Linked DNA regions of Homo sapiens: region 1 is linked to region 2. The links are contacts of gene promoters, found by promoter capture Hi-C in human tissues and cell types (Jung and others, 2019). All regions are on one chromosome and are shown on one strand. Each heading gives the region's core, a stretch centred on a gene start or on the middle of the fragment in contact. The rest is flanking DNA. Distances are from core to core; before and after follow the strand shown.

What was found. The method cuts DNA at HindIII sites, captures the fragments that hold promoters and counts their contacts. A contact is called where the count stands out against the background at its distance.
Region 1: a fragment that was not itself captured here is called in contact with the fragment with the promoter of EFNA4 in region 2 in 1 of the 25 tissues and cell types used here (hippocampus).

What each region holds. Positions count from the first base shown.
Region 1 is chr1:153,963,874-153,968,675 of GRCh38, forward strand. CREB3L4 (cAMP responsive element binding protein 3 like 4) reads left to right here and starts at 4,029. Exons shown (of 10, transcript NM_001255978.2): 1 at 4,029-4,291; 2 at 4,649-4,802. The coding sequence starts at 4,653. It also overlaps a transcript of SLC39A1 not described here. RefSeq lists enhancers at 1-451, 1-40, 3,315-4,171, 3,606-3,825, 4,036-4,145 and 1 more and a silencer at 3,786-4,287. The HindIII fragment of the contact is 3,075 bases long and covers 1-2,857 here.
Region 2 is chr1:155,062,490-155,067,995 of GRCh38, forward strand. EFNA4 (ephrin A4) reads left to right here and starts at 1,251. Exons shown (of 4, transcript NM_005227.3): 1 at 1,251-1,447; 2 at 4,241-4,527; 3 at 4,883-4,951. The coding sequence starts at 1,335. It overlaps ADAM15 (ADAM metallopeptidase domain 15), which reads left to right. Exons shown (of 23, transcript NM_207197.3): 23 at 1-286. The coding sequence ends at 13. It overlaps EFNA4-EFNA3 (EFNA4-EFNA3 readthrough), which reads left to right and starts at 1,251. Exons shown (of 5, transcript NM_001407761.1): 1 at 1,251-1,447. The coding sequence starts at 1,335. DCST1-AS1 (DCST1 antisense RNA 1) reads right to left here and starts at 1,502. Exons shown (of 4, transcript NR_040773.1): 1 at 1,268-1,502. It also overlaps ADAM15-EFNA4. RefSeq lists silencers at 652-741, 1,122-1,271, 1,562-1,711 and an enhancer at 2,202-2,703. The HindIII fragment of the contact is 5,150 bases long and covers 1-3,789 here.

The DNA.
Region 1 (4,802 bases), core at 70-2,569, 1.1 Mb before region 2:
CCCACATCTGAAAACATCTTCCTGGCCTTGGGCCAAAGTCTCATCTGTCCCTCAGAAGGCTCTGACACCTCGTCAGTGCCTCTTGGCGCCCAAGGGAAAGCATTCCCCTCTTGGGACCAACTTCCTTGACTGCTTTCCCTCACCAGCACCCACAACAAGGAAAAAGACAAGGCAGAATTGGAAAGGGGGGAAAGCAAAGAGAGGGTATGTCTTGAAAATCATCCCTTCTCGACTACTTATGGCACTCAGTGCAGCCTCCGCCTTCTCCAGGTGGGTGGGGACGTGGTGGGACCGGAATGCGGGGTGCTGAAGCCGCGCCCAGGGAAGAGCCCCCAGCGCATTCCAGGATATCTGCGTACCGCGCCTGCGGGCGTCTGGCCGGTTCTCCCACCTGATTTCCAGCCCAGCTCCCGCCACCCTCGCCGGTCGGTTTGCTGTTTGCTGTTCCTTGAATGCCCCAAGGTAGTTGTTTCAGCTCAGGACTTTCACCGTTTCCTCAACCTGGATTCTTGTGGCCCACAACTCTGTGCCTTGAGAATCCTCTTCTAGCCTCAAGGGACGGTAAGACAAAAGAAAATTTAAAAAGGGGGCTCAGCTGTTCTTTTATGCAAAGGTGAAAAAAGCTTCATTGCCTAAAGAAGGGACAGATGGGATCTTGCTTCCTACAGGAAAATTAATTTTAAAAAAGAAAAAAAAAAGGGGGGACAGTGTAATGCTTCTCACAAGGCTCCAGAAACGAAGCCCAGTAATTCCTTAAGTAAAAGAGGAATGTGAAGACTTCTTAAGGGGCCGGGCGCGGTGGTTCACGCCTGTAATCCAAGCACTTTGGAAGGCCGAGGATGAATCACCTGAGGACAGAAGTTCAAGACCAGCCTGGTCAACATGGTGAAACCCCGTCTCTACTAAATATACAAAAATTAGCCGGGCGTGGTGGCGGGGGCCTGTAATCCCAGCTACTCGGGAGGCCGAGGCAGGAGAATCGCTTGAACCCGGGAGCCGGAAATTGCAGTGAGCCGAGATCGCGCCATTGCGCTCCAGCCTGGGCAACAACAGCGAAACTTCGTCTCAAAAAAAAAAATTATTCGTAATTGGTAACATTAACAAGGAATTATGACTGGGGGGGTCAGGAAACCTGGATTCTGGTCCAAGTTCTACCTTTATAGTTGTCAAATATATATATTTGTTTATTTATACACATACATATGTCATATATGATTAATAATTGTATATATTTATGGTGTACAACATGATGTTTTGAAATATATGTACATTGGGCCGGGCGCGGTGGCTCACGCCTGTAATCCCAGCACTTTGGGAAGCCGAGGCGGGCAGATGACGAGGTCAGGAGTTGGAGACCAGCCTGCTCAACATGGTGAAACCCTGTCTCTACTAAAAATACAAAAATTAGCCAGGCGTGGTGGCGCATGCCTATGATCCCAGCTACTCAGGAGGCTGAGGCAGGAGAATCGCTTGAACCGGGGAGGCGGAGGTTGCAGTGAGCCAAGATCACACCTCTGCACTCCAGCCTGGACGACACAGCGAGACTCCGTCTCAAAAAAAAAGAAAAAAGAAAAGAAATATATGTACATTGCAGAATGGGTAAATCAAGCTAATTAACATATGCATTACTTCACATATTTATTTGTGATGAGAACATTTAAAATCTCTTGGCAACTTTATTTCTTTTCTTTTTCCTTCCTTCCTTCCTTTCTTCTTTCCTCCTTTCTTTCTTGACAGAGTCTTGCTGTGTTGCCCAGGCTGGAATGCAGTGGCATGCTCTTGGCTCACTACAACTTCTGCCTCCCAGGTTTCAAGCAATTCTCCCGCCTCGGCCTCCCGAGTAGCTGGGATTACAGGCGCCCGCCACCACGCCCGGCTAATTTTTGTATTTTTAGTAGAGACGGGATTTCACCATGTTGACCAGGCTGGTCTTGAACTCCTGACCTCAGGTGATCCACCCGCTTCAGCCTCCCAAAGTGCTGGGACTGCAGGTGTGAGCCACCACACCCGGCCCAATAGATCTCCTCAATTTTACCTTACCTTGATGTATGATTTTAGGCAAGTCAGTTTTCCTCACCAGAGTTTGATAAATCAGGGGCAAGGAGGAAGTTAAACAAGCAGATGACTGCAGAGGGTCCTTCCAGTTCTAACATCAACGGAAGCTAACTACATTCCCCACTCAAATCATCTCTGCACATACAGCCCGCAGGAAGCCCTTTGAAATGTATTTAACCACCTTTCTCGCTCTCAGAATGATCTCAACAAGAACAGCTTTGCTTTCCTTGGAGCTCTGCATCAATCTAGGAAGGCTGCTTTGTCTCTTCACTACTTGAGCAGGATGGAGAGATATGAGCGGGAAAGACAGATAAGAAATCTGAGAAAGCCCCACAAGGTGGGTTGATAGTGTGAAGAACATGGGCTGAAGCATCCAAATCTTGGTTCAGCTACTTACAGGGTAACCTTGAGAAAGTTACTTAAACTTGTCAGCTCGGACGGGCGTGGTGGCTCACGCCTGTAATCCCAGCACATTGGGAGGCCGAGGTGGACGGATCACGAGGTCAGATCGAGACCACCCTGGCTAACACGGTGAAACCCTGTCTCTACTAAAAATACAAAAAAATTAGCTGGGCGCCTGTAGTCCCAGCTACTAGGGAGGCTGAGGCAGGAGAATGGCGTGAACCCGGGAGGCGGAGCTTGCAGTGAGCCGAGATCGAGCCTCTGCACTCCAGCCTGGGCCACAGAGCAAAAGAAAAACAAACAAACAAACTTGTCAGCTCCATCTGCTGTAAGAATTATATGAGTAACATGGAAATGCCTGACTAGACCCTGTTCCCGTTTTTACCCTTAGCCCGTTCAAATCTTCATAAGGATAATTAGTAGCAGTTTGAGTTCTGGGATTCACACTCCAAACTACTGTTTTACTCACCCAGCTACCCTTTTCTGAAATACTACTGAAAACCATACCTGTATCAGTTTACCTCCATTGTTTTACTTGAAGTGAATTCCTGGACCATCAGACATTAGACCAAGGCAAAAAAATAAAAATAATCAATCAACCCTGAGTTTTGGTATTACTACTTTCTAGTCATGGATCTGCCTCCTCATAGGTAAAATTTGCAAAATATTACCCGCCGTGTGTGCCTCAGAACTGTTATGGATTAAGGAAGAGAACAATTTTTATGAAAACGTTTTGTAAATTATACAAGTGTGGGACATAATGTTCCCGGTAACTGTATGCAAACAATAAGACAACAAACGCAAAAGGCTTTTTAACTTGTTGCAGTTTTCCTGCCCCGTGTCCCTCCGTGAATGAGCAGCGTGCAGCGAGCGTGTGCGCACAGCTGCTGTTCTCCATTAACGCCACACTGCTCGGCTTGCGGACGGGGAAACCCGCCATCGCGCTCCTGCCGCCTGCCGAGCGAGGATCACCGCTCCACTGGGGTCAGCGGGCTGTTGACTCCCCGCCTGGGTGAAACCGGAGCTTCCGAGTCACGTGGCGCGCGAAGACAAACCTGGCTGCTCAGGGTTTCCCGGAGCTTTCTCCCAGCTTCCCGGCGATTCATATTCTGGCGCTTACCCCTCCCTTTAGGCTGGCGGAACCCAATCCCCGCCTGACAAATAAGTCCCGCCGGCCGGACGCAGTGGCTCGCGCCTGTGGTCCTAGCTGCTCGCGGTGCTGAGGCGGGAGAATCACCTGAGCCCGGGAGGTCGGGGGCTGCATGGAACCGTGATCGCACCACCGCACTCCAGCCTGGGCAACAGAGCGAGACCCTGTCTCCAAAAATAAGAATAAAGAAAAAAAAAAGAAAGAACTGCGGCCCCATTGGCCTGACTCTCCTGAACAGCCAAACTGTCTCCGACCAGTTACGGAAGAGGCGGCCTTGAGAGGGTAGTGTGCCATTGGCTCGATGTCCTGCCCCTCCGAAACCTAAGTCTTCAGCTTCCAATCAGGACTCAGCTTTGGGAAGAGCGCCACGCGGTGGGCGAGGGGATGCCCTAGTAAATTCGCAGGTCTCTTGACTCTTTCCGCCTTTGTTTACAACCCTGCCATGATCTCCCTCTTGCAAAAGCGAGGGCTACAGAACAGGCATTCAGGAGTCCTGTGCTCCAGTCACAGCCTTTTCTGTTCTTCAGCTAGGAGACACCAAACCCTCAGGAAGATTTACTATAGCTAAGAGAAAACTGCAGCAGAAAGGGCGCGGCTACCTACTTCTTAAATTCCGTTTGTGGACCCTCAGACTCTTAGTCCCCTACTCCCAGATACAGCGGCCCTACCGTGGCTCCTGGCAAGGTGGCATCCACTTTTGTAGTGTAAGGCTGGGGGCGGGGTTTGGCTGGCAGGTCCAGGATACGAGATCCTGGAAGAAAGAAAAGGTGTAGTGTTTGGGGAGGTCAACGGGCTATGCTGGCTTGACAGGGCTGGGCTCTTCAGAACAGGTAATGCTTGGGGGGGGCCTCTTTGTCTAAACCTGAGGGATAGGGCTGAAGGTGAAATATCGAGGGGACAGGTGAGGGGGCTTGCTAGTGAGGAAGGAGTGGGGGGGCGGGGATAATGGAAAAGGGAGCAGAGGAGCCCAGAAACTGTAGGGGGTAGTAAGCAGCCATCATTCCGTTTCTGCAACCCTCCGTCCCACACGCCTTCCTGCAGAAGCATGGATCTCGGAATCCCTGACCTGCTGGACGCGTGGCTGGAGCCCCCAGAGGATATCTTCTCGACAGGATCCGTCCTGGAGCTGGGACTCCACTGCCCCCCTCCAGAGGTTCCGGTAACTAGGCTACAGGAACAGGGACTGCAAGGCTGG
Region 2 (5,506 bases), core at 1-2,500:
GCTCTACCTCTGACCTCTCCGGAGGTTCCGCTGCCTCCAAGCCGGACTTAGGGCTTCAAGAGGCGGGCGTGCCCTCTGGAGTCCCCTACCATGACTGAAGGCGCCAGAGACTGGCGGTGTCTTAAGACTCCGGGCACCGCCACGCGCTGTCAAGCAACACTCTGCGGACCTGCCGGCGTAGTTGCAGCGGGGGCTTGGGGAGGGGCTGGGGGTTGGACGGGATTGAGGAAGGTCCGCACAGCCTGTCTCTGCTCAGTTGCAATAAACGTGACATCTTGGGAGCGTTCCCCAGAGTTTGTCTGCTTCTAGAACCCGGGTCGCTCCTGCTGCGGTTCCAGGTTTGGCCGCCAGAAGACGCTGCCGCCTCAGACGAGGGCGGGCTGTGTGGGGCGGGAGTACCAGAAAGGGTCGGCGTGTGTCCCCGGGATGCTCGCAGCTTCCCTCTGCCCAGACTGGGGTGGCTTTCGGCGCAATCTGTCAAGCTGTTGGACCTGCCGTCCCCACTCTGACCATTGGCTGGGAAAAGTGGATCTGGCTGATGCTCCCAGAGCCCAGGAGCCAGGGCGGAGCGGGGCGGCGGCTGCTCCCACGATCCCAAGGCCGCGCACCTGCCTCCTCCCCCTCCGCCGCCGCCACCTGAGGGATCGGGAACAAAGGTGCTTTGTACAGGCCGCAACCACCTCATTACTTCGTCTTAGGGACTGGGGCCGCGTGGGCCCCCAGCCCGGAACGAAGGTGTGGAGCGGCAAGGGACAGACGCCAATCCTAAAGTGAGCATCTAGCGCGCCACCTAAGGCTCTTTAGGGAAGGTGGTCCCAGAGCTGTGTTGTCCCTTCCGCTTGCACTGTCCCTAGATGTGCAAAGAAAACGGGGCAGTGCATGAAGGTGGTTGGACAGGCTTCATGGATCCTCGCCCGCGCCTCACTTTCCCCTATCTGGGCAAAGGTTATGTACCCTTATTTAAAATCTTCCAAACTTCTAATAAGGCAGTCTACCCTGCACTAAAGCAGACACGAAAGAGATGACCTCCCTAAAAATACTGCTGTTGGAATACGTCCTTCCTTCCCGCCCCCTCGCAGTGCGGTGCAGCCTCAGTGGAAGCTTTGGCGAACCTGGCGCGCGCTGCGGTGCACAGAGGGTTAACTGGAGTTGGCGCTGGGTGGAGAGGAGGAGACGCGCTCCCATTGGCGGAAAGTTATTCAGGGGCGGGGTCAGTGAATCTCCGTACCCCACTCCCCTTTCCGCAACTTCCCTCTTCACTTTGTACCTTTCTCTCCTCGACTGTGAAGCGGGCCGGGACCTGCCAGGCCAGACCAAACCGGACCTCGGGGGCGATGCGGCTGCTGCCCCTGCTGCGGACTGTCCTCTGGGCCGCGTTCCTCGGCTCCCCTCTGCGCGGGGGCTCCAGCCTCCGCCACGTAGTCTACTGGAACTCCAGTAACCCCAGGTAGCCGGGCCGAACCGGGCGAGCGCACAGCCAAGTCTGCGCGCTCCCGGGCTTTGCGCGCGCCCGCCACCCGCTCTTTGCGCGGCGCCGCCTGAGCCTGGCCGCGCGCCGGGGCTCCTTTGTTTGAGCCGGCGGGGGAGGGGGGAGGGGCGAGGGGCGAGGCGCGCCCTGGGTCTCCCCACAGCCCGCATGTGTTGGGGGGCAGGCAGAAGACCCCAGCCCCAAGGGTTGTCTAGGGGGTCTTGGAGCATGGAGCTGGGGGGGCCTTTGCCCGCACTCCGGGCTCCGCCCCCCTCGCTGCTCTCCTGGCGATCCCCAGCCTCCCGCAGGCTGGAGCTGTGGCTGACGAACTTGAGAGCGAGGGAGGGGGCTTTACTCTTATGAAAGAGCGTGGGTTACTCTCCTGCCCGCTGGGTCTCACCTCTGGCTCTCACTCTGTCTCCTGATCTCATTTGCTATCTCTGCTTTCATCTCTGTCTTTATTGGTCCTTCTGTTTCTTTCCAGTGTCAGCCCTGCCCTTCTAGCCGAATCACCTCTGGGCAAGTCTCGTGACCTTCCTAACCTCATTTATCTCACCTGTATAATGGGCTAATAATACCTAGTACCCTGGGAAGTCTGGCAGGGTAAGTGAGGTCATGTATGTGAAAGAGGCTCAGGCTGTACAGATATAAACTATTATTTCTTTCTCTCTCCTGAGCTGCCTGCCTTTGAACCTTAGTATATTTTACTGTTTCCATCCCCCTCCCCAAGTCTCCCTGCCTCTCCTATTTCCTATCTGTTTTTCTTTCTGATTTTCTACTTGAGACAATCTGTGACTATTCATTTCTTCACTCACTAACATTTATTTATTAAACACATACTGTGTGTGCCCGGCCCTGTGCTAGGTTGCAGGGGATTAACTATATAGATGAGAAGATCAAGACCCTGCCCTCTGGGATTCCACAGACTCTCTGGAGAACAGGCGCAGGCAGGAGAGCCTGCATAAAGACAGGTCATTACAATACCAATAACAAGTGATAAGAGCTTTTGTTGTCCTTGGACTCTGAATTCTCTATCTCTGTCACAGACCAAAGCTTCTGAATCACTTGGAGGACCTGTTAAAAATTCAGGTTTCTCACCCCCCAATCTTAAGGTTTCTGGCTCATTCATTCAATCCACAAATATTTATTGAACACTGTCCTGTGCTGGGCACTTTTCCAGGCACGGGGGATGCAGTAGAACAAAACTTACCAAGGCCCTGTCCTTGCTCAGCTTGCGTTCTAGTAAGTCTGGGCTGGCTGAGCCCAGGAATCTTCATTTCTAATCAGAACTGATACAGGTCGTCCTTGGACCACCCACTGGAGGCTTTTCCTAAGTCATGCTTCGCTGTGTTTGTGGTATGGGGGGTGGTTCATGCAGCATTCAGTACTGTGGGGAGCAGCCCCTTCCAGCCCTTCCCACCTGTGCTGGCTTCCCCAGGCAGCTCCCAAGAGGTGGGGAAGGGAGTCCTGAGAAGACTGAAGACTGGGTAGTATGTGGACTCCCCCCATGCCTGGCACTTGCTCCTCCTGGCCAAAAAAGGGAGGCACCTAGCACCCACTCCCTCATTCTTTTTTTTTTTTTTTTTTTAATTTTTAGAATTTAGAGACAGGGTCTTGCTCTGTCACCCAGGCTGTAGTGCGGTGGCATAATAGCTCACTACAGGAACTTGCGGACTCTAAGGATCCTCCCGCCTCAGCCTCCCAAGTAGCTGGGACTACAGGAGTGCACCACCACTCATGGCCTTTATTTATTTATTTATTTATTTATTTATTTATTTATTTATTTATTTTTTGAGATGGAGTCTCGCTCTGTCTCCCAGGCTGGAGTGCAGTGGCGCAATCTCGGCTCACTGCAAGCTCCGCCTCCCGGGTTCACGCCATTCTCCTGCCTCAACCTCCCAAGTAGCTGGGACTACAGGTGCCCGCCACCACGCCCGGCTAGTTTTCTTTTTATATTCTTAGTAGAGACGGGGTTTCACCGTGTTAGCCAGGATGGTCTTGATCTCCTGACCTCATGATCCGCCCGCCTCAGCCTCCCAAAGTGCTGGGATTACAAGCGTGAGCCACCGCGCCCAGCCTATTTATTTATTTATGGTAGAGACAGTCTCACCATGTTGCCCAGGCTGGTCTTGAACTCCTGGCCTCAAGCGATCCTCCCACCTCGGCCTCCCAAAGTGCTGGGATTCAGATGTGAGCCACCACACCTGGCCTCCCTCATTCTTTTTTTACCGTGACATTCTTTTCACCCTTGGGTTGAAGTCAGTCTAAAGGACAGTGTTCCTCACTTTATATCTGTTTGAGGAGACCTTTCCCAACCCCTGTTTCCACCTCTGTGTCTGCAGCTGCACTGTGTGCAACTGTACCTCCTGCCTCTCTGCCCAGCTTCTTCACAGCATCCATCCACCTGACATTGATCAAGCCTGGTGCTATACCACATTGAGTGTTGGGCACTGGAGCTAGAGAGGTGTGTGGCAGCTCCAGCCTGTAGGACAGGGTGTGGTGACCCTCCTTCTCACATCTAAGCTGTGTGGTTATGGGCACTGCAGGTCTTAGCCTCTCGGAACCTGTGAATCGATCATCTCATCCATTTCTTGCACTCTCTTTGTCTCTCAAGAGTTGTCAGTCTGGGAACCTCGGGCCTTCCTGAGCTGCTCCATCGCACATGGGTGGAGGAGAGGCTGGCAGGGGCCTCTGAGAAGGGGTGTCTCTGGCATCCATGGCCATGGCGTGGTGCCCTCCACTCCTCAGCCCACCCCTGCGTTATGCCTGCAGGTTGCTTCGAGGAGACGCCGTGGTGGAGCTGGGCCTCAACGATTACCTAGACATTGTCTGCCCCCACTACGAAGGCCCAGGGCCCCCTGAGGGCCCCGAGACGTTTGCTTTGTACATGGTGGACTGGCCAGGCTATGAGTCCTGCCAGGCAGAGGGCCCCCGGGCCTACAAGCGCTGGGTGTGCTCCCTGCCCTTTGGCCATGTTCAATTCTCAGAGAAGATTCAGCGCTTCACACCCTTCTCCCTCGGCTTTGAGTTCTTACCTGGAGAGACTTACTACTACATCTGTGAGTGGCCAAGGGCACACTGGACACCTCTTGTGTACCAGAAGGGTAGGGAGGGGGAAGGAGAGGCCTGGAAGGAGGAGGGGGCTGGGTCTCTAATGTACATCGGGTTGAGGTATGGGCTGAACTCAGGACTGAGGAGGGAAATGTCTAGAAAGGAGAAAGTAGGAGGAGCTAGGAAAGGGGGCCAGGGAGATGAGAGGACTGGATGGGGCCTGATACATGGGTGTGGCCCCAAAGTAAGGAAACGCTTTCCAGGGACCTGGAGAGAAGAAAACCTGGGAGGGTCTGAAACAGTCTGAGGCATACAAAGGGGTGACTCCCTGTGCTAACTTTTTCCCACTTTCCCACTACCCAGCGGTGCCCACTCCAGAGAGTTCTGGCCAGTGCTTGAGGCTCCAGGTGTCTGTCTGCTGCAAGGAGAGGAGTAAGTGGGTTGGGAGCATGGACCCTACTGGCTAATGTGGGGCCTTGGGAAGGAGGGAAGGAGTGAGAAGAATCTAGGAGGATCAGACTCCAGGGGTCCTGGTGAAGCTTCAAGCTGTGGTCTCTTCTCCCCATTTAGCCTTGAGGGAGCTTCTACTGCACCATCCTCTCCCCACTTCTGTTTTGTTTTGTTTTGGTTTTAGACGGAGTCTCGCTCTGTTGCCCAGGCTGGAGTGCAGTGGCTCGATCTCAGCTCACTGCAAGCTCCGCCTCTCTGGTTCACGCCATTCTCCTGCCTCAGCCTCCGGAGTAGCTGGGACTACAGGCACCCGCCACCACACCCGGCTAATTTTTTGTATTTTTAGTAGAGATGGGGTTTCACCGTGTTAGCCAGGATGGTCTCGATCTCCTGACCTTGTGATCTGCCCACCTCAGCCTCCCAAAGTGCTGAGATTACAGGCATGAGCCACCACCCCCAGCTCCCCCACTTCTTTTTTAAGAGACAGGGTCTTGCTGTGTTGCCCAGGCTGGAATGCAGTGGCACGATCATACCTCT